Linked DNA regions of Homo sapiens: region 2 is linked to region 1. Evidence: promoter capture Hi-C in 16 types of primary human blood cells and fetal thymus (Javierre and others, 2016). All regions are on one chromosome and are shown on one strand. Each heading gives the region's core, a stretch centred on a gene start or on the middle of the fragment in contact. The rest is flanking DNA. Distances are from core to core; before and after follow the strand shown.

What was found. Contacts are between HindIII fragments. The CHiCAGO score rates a contact against its expected background, and 5 or more counts as called.
Region 2: a fragment that was not itself captured here is called in contact with the fragment with the promoter of PSIP1 in region 1 in 1 of 17 cell types (monocytes); the score reaches 6.7 in monocytes.

The regions. Positions count from the first base shown.
Region 1 is chr9:15,508,134-15,513,476 of GRCh38, reverse strand. It overlaps PSIP1 (PC4 and SRSF1 interacting protein 1), which reads left to right and starts at 2,507. Exons shown (of 16, transcript NM_033222.5): 1 at 2,507-2,660; 2 at 3,148-3,360. The coding sequence starts at 3,289. RefSeq lists enhancers at 217-835, 1,488-2,440, 2,441-3,394 and silencers at 2,522-2,601, 2,622-2,831, 2,842-2,901, 3,032-3,081, 3,182-3,381. The HindIII fragment of the contact is 3,241 bases long and covers 1,266-4,506 here.
Region 2 is chr9:17,139,562-17,144,904 of GRCh38, reverse strand. CNTLN (centlein) reads right to left here. Exons shown (of 26, transcript NM_017738.4): 2 at 1,529-1,617. Among named protein-coding and RNA genes, the nearest start is that of CNTLN, 7.2 kb to the right of the region's middle. The HindIII fragment of the contact is 7,594 bases long and covers 1-5,343 here.

The DNA.
Region 1 (5,343 bases), core at 1,258-3,757:
GATAGTGGCACTTGGGTTAAATGAGATAATGTAGGCCAAGTTCCTGCCTCAACTCATTTGGATTTTCCTGCCCCCTCCCCTTGCTTCAGTTGTTTTGGAAATTACACTCTTTCTCCTTATAACTTTCCCATTGCTCCTCTGATCTCCATTTTGGTATACTTTTTCAAGTATCCCCACTAAGAAGGCTGACTATGGGAGAGGGCTGCACCAAGCATAGCTGGAAAAGAGCACAGAAAAGCTCTCCCAAGTGGCTAGGATGTGCCCAGCTTTCCTTCCCCGTTCCCTGCCCTCCCCTCCCCTCCCCTCCCCCCCCCTTTCCTCGCAGATTCAGAACTGTTGCTCCCAGGGATCCTGGGCTTTTGTTCTCTGGAAGCTTAAACCACCACCTGTTTTGCCTTTATTGTTTAAAGGGTATCTCCTGTTGTTCACAAACTACCACAGGTTGAAGCGGACAAAACTTAAAGGCAGCAGGAGCTAAGTATGGTACTTCCTTTTTTTAAAACAACAAAAACAACAGAAAATACTAATAGTAAAACATCAATGCTTTTCCATTTTCCCTTTTTTATTTCTTTTCTGAGGTCCCCTCTAACACTAACTACCCCCTCTTTACCTGTTAATCCTACCATTAGTACTAATAAAAAGTTATCTTTAACGTTAATTATAACTTGTTATATATCTGTTTTTCTTAGTTTGAAGTTTTTACAGTCTGAGGTATCCTCTAAAGCAGTTTCTCAAACTTGAATATGCGTAAGAATCACCTAGGGATCCTGTTAAAACGCAGATTATGATTTAGAAGGCCTGGGGAAGGTCTGAGCTTTACCTGAGCTCCCAGGTAAAGCCCTTGCTGCTGGGCCTTGGACCACACTTGAAGTAGCAAGGCCTTACAGGGTTTAGAACAAATAAAGTGCATACACACAAAAAAATGATTGCTGGATGCTGCTTTGGTCTCTCTTACTCTGTATCTTGAGCTTTTCTTCAATACATCTTTTTCCACCTTTTCCTATGCATAATTTATAGCCAACACCTGACAATCATTCCTTTGTGTAATTACTTAGTTGTGCTCTTCCTTCCCTTTTCTTAGTCACCATTCTCACTGAGAAATGCGTCATTTCATGAGTACTCCAGTTACCCCCAGCCTCTTTCTACTAACATCTACCTTGAAACATCAAGAACTGGTTAAATAATCATTTTTACCCCCTTCTTGCTGAGCAACCTATAGTAGCTTCCTACTACACACATTAAATTCATATTCAGAATGAGAAGCTTCAAGACATTTCACCAACCCTTCCTTCTCCTCTGCCAATTTCTCTTTTTGCTCCACTTGGAACTCTCTGCATATTGCCCAGGTATACTTAGTTTCTCGAAACTCCTTACAGGACATTTTACTTTGGGACTGTCTTCTTTCATTCCTTTTTAAAGACATGCTGTATCGCTTTCAAAAAATTCTCAATTTTTACCAATTCAAAAAAAATTTCCTAATTCATTTCCAGTTGAGTCCCGTATTTAAAACAGTATTATCTAGGTGCTAATATATGTCTTATTATTCTTATTTTTATATGTCTTAACATTCTTTTTAAAAATATTTTCAGCCTCTCTAAAGGATCAAAAAATTAACCTTTAAAATCCCTTGAAGAGCATTTTAAGAGAGAAAATATTTGAGGTTTAGTAACACTTACACATTGTACCACCTACCAGCTCCTATTCTACTAGGGAAATAAAATTTAGATGCAGCTAAAATTTAGTTAGGGCCCAAACTCACATCCTATCTAAAAGGTTTCTGTTTTCCTGTCATTGTTTTCTACCCTTCGCATTTTGCATTCAGTAGGGTTGCATTTTTCTTAATAGTTCTTGGTGATGCAAATGCAAAAGAAATGAAATAGGGCTCTCTCATACTACAATTTCAAGGAAAAGGAGACTACGAGGCCCATTCAGCGAGGTGCAAGAGGCCTAGATGCAGCACACCCTGCAACCGCCGCATGCTCCAATTTCATCTTAGGGTTTTCGTACAGCTCCTCTTTTTTGGATGATGCAAACCGCGCAAAAGCAGCATTCAAACCTCCCCACCCTGGAAACGATACAAGAACATGAATCTTTACTGCCACTTTCTCCCTAACACGCAGCCAAGGGAGAGAGGCCCGGATACCCGCCCCCAAAACCGCGTCCACAACAATCATTTCCTCCCTCCCCGCCTTTTACATACAGTACACATACAAATACACACACGCAGAGAAGCCAGCAGGGGCGGGCCGGGCCCGACCACTCCGCAAACCGCAGGGGGAACTTGCGGCAGGCCGAGCTATTTTCGCCCAGTCCTTTCTTCTTCGCTTGCGTCTTCCTCTCCATCTGCATGCACCTGTTACATGAAAGCGAACTTGGGGACGTAGGGTTTCCAGAAAATCCGCTTCGGAGCCACACAGCTTCGCCGGGTGCTGCAACATCCCCCCTCTCTCGGTAAACAGTTGGTCGCGCCCCAGTGCTAGCGGGCGCCGAGCGGGAGCCGCGCGGGAGCAGCGCAGCTACGGCGGCGGCAGCGGCGGCGCGGTTGCGATTCCGAGCCGTTGAGACGCCTCTGCGGCAGCTGGTGGCGCAGGTGGCTTGCGTGGACGCGGGTAGAGGCGACCGGCCAGCAACCGCAGCGTCGGCGCCCGCGGCCCCGGCAGGTGAGCGGGCGACGGGGACTCGCCCCGCCCCCCCCTCGGTGGCGTCGCTCCTGGCTGTAGCGGGGAAGTGGACGCGGCCCGCCCGGGAGCCGAGGGGGCCGAGGCTGCAGCCGCTGGGCAGCAGGTTGCGGGGGAGGCCTTGCGTGGGCGGAAGGGGGCCGCTCGCTTCTCGGAATCCCTGCCTTTTTCTCTCCCATGCACCCCCTCCCTTTTGGGGCTTAAGCTCGGTGGAAAAAGCCCGGAGAAAGATGGGGCGGGCAGACGGGCGATTTCTGGCCGGGCAGCATCCCTGCTTCAGGTGGTGGCGTCTCTTCGGTGGCGGGGTGGAGGACCTGCTCCAGCGCGGAGGCAGCGCACTGGCGGGGGAGGAGCGGGAGGCGGCCGTCCCCTCGCTCTCCCACCCCCACCCGCCGGTTCCCCTCCCCCTCCCCTTGCGGCCCCTCCCTTCGGGGTTCTTCGCTTTAACCGCCCTCGGTGCTCTCCCTAGCAGGCGCGTCGGGACGCCCCGAGGCATCCTCCCCCGCCCGCGGGCCCGGTAGCTGGGCCCGCGTCCGCCGCCCGCATCCCCGCGCCGCCGCATCTCCTCGCCGCCTCCCGGGCTTCGGACCCCCGGTCTCGCCCCCGAAACATGACTCGCGATTTCAAACCTGGAGACCTCATCTTCGCCAAGATGAAAGGTTATCCCCATTGGCCAGCTCGAGTAAGTGATTTGTAGCCCTCGCGCTTAGCAGTGCTACCCTCCTCTCCAGAGGCCTGCTGCCCACCGTGTCTCTTTATTTTTTCTTCTGTCCTTTCTCTCCCTCGCTTTAGTCTCATTTGTAACCTGACCTTTCATTTTAGTTTTTTGCCCAATAATCTCCCGTGTAATTATGAAAATCCAGACGTTTCTACATACCTGTGTATTTCCCTATGGTTTATTGGCAGACTTGGACAGATTTTCTTCCTAGGAAATATTTAAATGCGTTGCTAGTTAATATTCCATTGTAGGTGAAATAATGAAGAGTGAATTTTTGTTTAAAAATTAGTGAAACATTGACATTTCCATAGTTTTGGATCAAGTACAAAATATCAATGGAATTTGTGCAGATTACACACAAACACTTGGATGTCAGAGAAGTGCGTATGTGATTAAATTGGATTTACAGGGTTTTAAAAAAAATACCTTGTACTTGATGAGGCCTTCTGGATTTGCTTGTTTAATACAGATTCAGGACTGGATATTCTTGAAAGTATTACAGTAGTTTAGTACCGAGGAAGGGCCAGAAAATTCATTTCTCCTTTTTTATTTGAGATGTTTATGACCTTGAAGAAGTTGTTTTACCTTTTTGTTTCCAATAGGCAAAAAGGAGGTGTGGACCAGATTCCTCAGTTCACATCTAGTGGTACAGAGAAATGATTAAGGACCCAGGATGTTTTGTGACATTGAGGAATTGAGACTGTTTAAAGATCTACGCTCCATTTTTAGAAAAAGGGTTCTTTTTGTTTATGGTGGTACCCAGGCTCTCAAACAGAGATAGATAGGACCTAAGATATGTTGCAATCAATTAGATTAGGTAAACTCAAGATCCTTTAAAAATATACTTACATGGGGTTCTGAAGTTTTATTTTTCCAAGCCATTTATTTTCGACTAATTTACTGTCCTTTGAAAATGTATTTCTTAAAAATAATTAAATTCTGTAGTTTTAGTTATGTCAGCAGGGGAATGGTGGAAAACACCCATTAGATAACGGAGTCCTGTCTAGGAGCTGAGAGTGCCATCCAAGTGTAAAACGATCACTGTTCCTTGACTTTCTTCCATCTAGCTGCTCTACGTAAACTCCTGTTCACAAGTTTCCTTCCAAAGCTTTTTTCCTTGCCTATAAAGTCTGCCTTTTCGGTGCAGTCTTACTTGAACAATCCTTAGTCATAATCCTTGTCTGTATATTTTACATTCTAATCTATTCCTTTCGTGATAATCTTTTGTTTTAATTCTTAACTCTGTGTATGCTTTGACCTCCAAATATATTGTGAGACCGAGGGCAACAACCTTAAATGGAATTTGTTTATACCCTCCATAGTCCGTAGTATATATGATGCACCTATAAAACACAATTCACGTTCAAATGGAGCCTAGGGAAACTGATCAGGTTTAAGGCCCCTCTGATATACTTTTTCATGGTCTTCGAGGTATCCTTGTTTATTTTGAGGTGTTTGAAAATATGAGGTTGTCTAATAGATCTATATTCCGATTTGCATGCCACAGTGAAGTTAAAAGCCAAAGGAAATGTTTAAAAAATCTCCCAAATCACCCTCCCCACGCTCATATGTTAAGTGACTAAGAGTGCTACTGAAAATAAAATAGGGTAGCCTTTGGAAGACCAGAGTGTTTTCCTTATTTAACAAGTTCTACATTTAACAAGTTCATTTGGATTGGAAGGGAAGTGTTTGTCTTTTCCCTTTTCCCCATCATTTTTTCTGAGAAACACCTCCATTTAGTGTTGGTGTATTCTGTGTCCAACAGTTACATTCCTTTTTCTGTCTTCTTCATTCTTAAAAATTTGAAATCTTTGCTGTAGAGTTTAGAGTCCATATTTAAAGTCTGAGCCGTAAAGGTGACACCTCTTGTTGCAATTTTTGCTTTAACATTTCTGTCTACATGTCCCAAACTTCATTAATTTTTAAGTCTTAAACATTCATGTACAT
Region 2 (5,343 bases), core at 1,556-4,055, 1.6 Mb before region 1:
GCGCCACTGCAGTCCGCAGTCTGGCCTGGGCGACAGAGCGAGACTCCGTCTCAAAAAAAAAAATAAAATAAAAAAAATAAAATAAAATAAATAAATAAATTCTCCAAGTATAACTTGTGCACACTAAATTTTGACAGTCATAGTTATAAAGCAGTAATCTCCAAAATTTCTCATTACACCTTATCAACAAAAGACTTTTGAACACCTACGTCTAATATACATACGTACATTTATTTATAAATTTTATGTTATATGAATATATACTCTGTATATTATAAATATGAAAAACAGACATTGTAAAGAATGAGGAAAATGACCTAACAATAATTTAATATCTGCTTCTGTTTAACCAAGAGAAAAGTAAAAATTATGGATAGGTTTAGAAAGTTTTAAAAAATAACAAATAAAAGGAGAGGAGAATAAAGAATCACGGAAATGACAATTGAAGTCCCAAGGCTTCTCTAGAAGGCTTATTCTACTAAAAAAACAGAGGGAGTCTGAGAGTGATCACATTTCATCTCAAAAATGATTGAGGAAGTAACAAGGGTACTTCAACAAAAGACTTAATTCTGATCATCAGAAGGAAAAAAATGATTGATGAATTAGACGTACAAGCAACATGAGAAGAAACTGATTATACTATTTTAAGTGTTCATAATAACCAAAGATGGTAAAATTAGACATACTCAGGCATGTATCACAGATTTTTAACAAGTCAAATCTCAGACAACGCTGGAATGATCCCAGGACTAGAGACTACAAGGGTGAATATAATTCAAGTAATAAAAAATGATATTCAGATTTTAGGATCATGATTCCAATTTTTAAAAAAGGAAAAGGTATCCATATGCTTAGCTTCTCATTTAAAAAGTATAATGAAATCCATTTACTAAGAAAGCAAGTGTTTTCATTGCTGTGCTAAGTGTCATGGGAATACTGTATACCAAATGTTTGATAGAGAGAACCCAGCATCATTCCACTGTTTCTAATAACCAAGGAGAGGCCCAACAATCTACAGTTAAATGACTGGGCAGTTCCTACAGGATAATATGGAGTGCTAAGTAAAATCCTTTAACCTATTCCAGAACACTTACTCTACACTGGCAAGGTCATCCCCGGCTTTCAATTACACACTGCAATTATCTAAGGGGAAAACTGAGTCACGTCTAGTAAGTTCCCTATAGAGGCAGTCCATGGAGTAAAAAGTCAAACAACAGGGACTTCGCCAACTTTTAAGGTTGAACTGTAACAGCTCAAGACACACACACACACAGTATTTAAGACATAGTTTTATCTCTTAGCTACACACTCTCCAAATATGTCAGAATATGAACAGGAACAGGGCATACCTGTACTTGGTGAACTGGCACCCTTCATAATAAATCCAACAATTTAATTTTTAGCTCCACATTTATTCAGAAATTAAATGAATCTCTTTAGGAGATTAATGATAAGTACTAACTTTAATAATGAAGAGAAACAAACTCAACACACCAAATACTCATGAAAAAATAATTTGAGAGCTCACCTTTCCACAACCAAACTGACCACTTGTGTGAGATCTGGGTTTGTAACCTGGAGACGTTTCCACAAAGACCATACAAATTCTTTATCAGCCTTAAAGAAATAAAAGAGAATTTAGATGCATTGCTTTGTAGTGGTAGTGAAATAAGATACTACATTAAATTTTAAAATGAAAAAACAATTACTTGATCCCTAGTTGTATAACTACATCAACTGATTCTCTTTAAAGGAATGGGGTAAAACTTTATTTTAAAAAGTTATTACACAGATAATCCATATTCACTTTTACTATTTCTATCACCTATATTTTGGGATGCAACTGTTGAAATGCTAAATATCTAGTTAAACTTGCTCTAAAAGGAAACTTCCCTCCCTGCTGCCCCATTTTCAGCTCCGCTTTTATCAAAACTCCTTGAAAGAGTTGCCTGTAATTACTATGTCTGTTTCCTATCTCCCATTCACTCTATAATGCTTCCTAGTAAGATTTTCCTAACCACCATTATGCTAAAATCATTATTCAAGGTCCTCTATATTGCCAAATCCAAAGGACAATGGGTAGTTTCAGTCCTTATTACCTAGGTTAGTTGTTATTAACCTTGGCTGACAGGTATCTCTTTTGAGGAGCTTTTAAAAAATAGGGATGAATTAGAGATTCTGATTAATTGGCCTTAGGTTAGAGCCAAGCATCAGTATGTTTTAAAAGTGCCTCGAGTGAATCTGTGCACTCTGGGTTGAGAACCACTGCCCTAGGTGACCTCATATCAGGCCCATGATTTTAAGTACCAACTCTACACTGAGACTCGCACATTTCTATCTAGAGCCATTTCCTCTACTCTTAGGTCCAGACTTACATCTCCAACTGCATATTCAATAATTCCACTTGAAAATCTAATAGATATCTTAAATTTAACTTGTTCAAAAAAAAATTATTGGTTCCTTACCCTCTCACAAATCTGCCCCTCTCCCTCCCAGAAATTGATACTGCCATCTATTCATTTATTCAAAGATCTAAAACAGTGGTGTCCAATCTTTTGGCTTCCCTGGGCCACAGTGGAAGAAGAATTATTATCTTAGGCCATATATAAAATACACTAACACTAACAATAGTTAATGAGCTAAAAAAAATTGCAAAATAAATCTCATAATGTTTTAAGAAAGTTTAAGAATTTGTGTTAGGCCGCATTCAAAGCCATCCTGGGCTGCATGCGGCCCACCTATGAGCCGGGTGTTAGGGTTAGGTTGATCTAAAACTTAGGAGTCAATCTTGTTTATTCTTCTTTTTTTTTTTTTTTTTTTTCTGAGACAGAGTCTTGCTCTGTCGCCCAGGCTGGAGTGCAGTGGCGCAATCTCGGCTCACTGCAACCTCTGCCTCCCAGGTTCAAGTGATTCTTCTGCCTCAGCCTCCTGAGTAGCTGGAACTACAGGCACGCACCACCACACCCAGCTAATTTTTGTATTTTTAGTAGAGACAGGGTTTCACCATATTGGCCAGGCTGGTCTCGAACTCCTGACCTCATGATCTACCTGCCTCGGCCTCCCAAAGTGCTGGGATTACAGGCATGAGCCACCGTGCCCAGCCAATCTTGGTTATTCTTTTCTCCTCATACTTCATATCCAAATCATCAATAAACCCTACTGTCCTTATCTACATGATAGGCAAATTCTGACCACTCTCACCACTTCTACCACTATCGCCCTAGTCCAAGTCAATTCCGTCTCTTGCCCAGCTATGTATCATGGTCTCATAGCCTTACAACTCAAAACTCTCCAGTGAGTTTCCATTAAATTAGGAAACTAATCCAAACTCTGTGTCAAGGCTACAAGACTCCATATGGCCTGGCCCATATACACCTCCCCAACCTCATCTGTCACTTTCCTCCTTGTTCACACAGACTTTCTTACTCTACTTGCTCTACTTGAACCAGGGCCAATGCACATACTGCATCATCCATCACACTTTCACATAGAGTATTCCCTCACTTCATTCAAGCCTTTTCTTAAATAATATCTCAAGTGAATTCTCCCCTGACTACTATCACAGCCACCAAAACCCCAAGTCTCTAGCAACCCCTTTTCCAGTTACAATTTTTTTTCACAGCACATTTCATTTAATAATCCTGTATGTTTAGTGATTTGGTTTTACTTGTGTGGCAGATATCTCAATTTCTGTCTCCGTCATCCATTCTCTCTTTTTAGTTACAGAAACAATTCTGCCCAAGTAACAGACCAACCTCCCTTGCCTTATGGGTTATATGACTAAGTTCTGTCAATGAAATATAAGTGCTGTTGGAAACTTAAAGGAAATCTTAAAATTAGACTTGTGTCTACCCATTGTTAGAAATATTCTTCCCAGTCTGTTGCTGCTTATTTATGATGATTTTTTTGAAAAAGCAAGTTATTAATTTTACATACTCAAATGTATCCATCTTTTCAATTATGGCTTATGGATTTTATGTACCAGTTAGAAAAGCCTTCTCTATTCCAAGATTAGAAATATATTTACCCATTTCTTCTTCTGGAATTTTTGTTTTTTAATATTTTTTAATCAACAAATAAAAATTGCATATATTTATGGCATACAACATAATGTTTTATGTATACATTTTAGAATGGTTAAATCAAGCTAATTAACATAACCATTAGGGCGAGCACAGTGGGTCACATCTGTAATCACTTTGGGAGGCCAAGATGGGAGGGGATCATCTGAGCCCAGGAGTTTGAGACTGGCCTGGGCAACATAGTGAGACCCCCATCGCCACAAAAAACTTAAAAATTAGCTAGCCATAGTGGAATACGCCTGTAGTTCCAGCTACTCAGGAGACTGAGGGTGGGACGATTGCTGAGCCCGGGAGGTCAAGGCTAGAATGAGCCATGATCATGAAACCATACAGCCTGGGCAATAGACCAAGACCCTATCTCAAAAAACAAAGAAAAAAACATAACCATTACCTCATACACCCACCATTTTTTTGTGATGAGAGCACTTAAAATCTATTCTCTTAGTAATTTTCAAGTGCACAATCTATTGTTATTAACTATAACACCATGCTGTACAGTAAGTCTGGTGATATGAAAAACAGTAAATTCTTTTGTGAACAATAAAATGTTACAAATGGATTGTGGAACTATGTTATATATGAATTTTGTGAGTTTTTCAGTTATTTAAATGCTATACTATGGTCAATTTGGATTACACCTAGAATTACTAAAAAAACTTTCATATACAAAAAATAAAGTCCCCCCCCGAAAAAACACAGAACTAGTTTCCAAACTGTTCCAGACATTAATACAAGGAAACTATTATCAATCACTCATATTCTCTTTATATTTTCCCTTCCTTCAGGCACTTAAAGATGTTCTTTTTAAATAACAAAAATAAAAACCTTGGCCAGGTGCGGTAGCTCACCCCTATAAGGCTGAGATGGACAAATGGCTTAAGTCCAGACGTTCGAGACCAACCTGGGCAACACAGGGAGACAGAGACCCCATCTCTACAAAAAATGCAAAACTTAGCCTAGTGTGGTGGCACACACCTGTAGTCCTAGCTACTCTGGAGGCTGAGGTGGGTGGATCCTTTGAGCCCAGGAGGTCAACGCTGCAATGAGCCATGATTGCACCACTGTACTCCAGCGTGGGTGACAGAGGGAGACTGTCACAAATAAAATGAAAACAAAAAATAAAAACCTAACATTACTCACTATAAAATTCCTTTTTTTTTTTTGAGACAAAGTCTCACTCTGTTGCCCAGGCTGGAGTGCAGTGGCGCAACCTCAGTGCACTGCAACCTTCGCCTCCCAAGTTCAAGCAATTCTCCTGCCT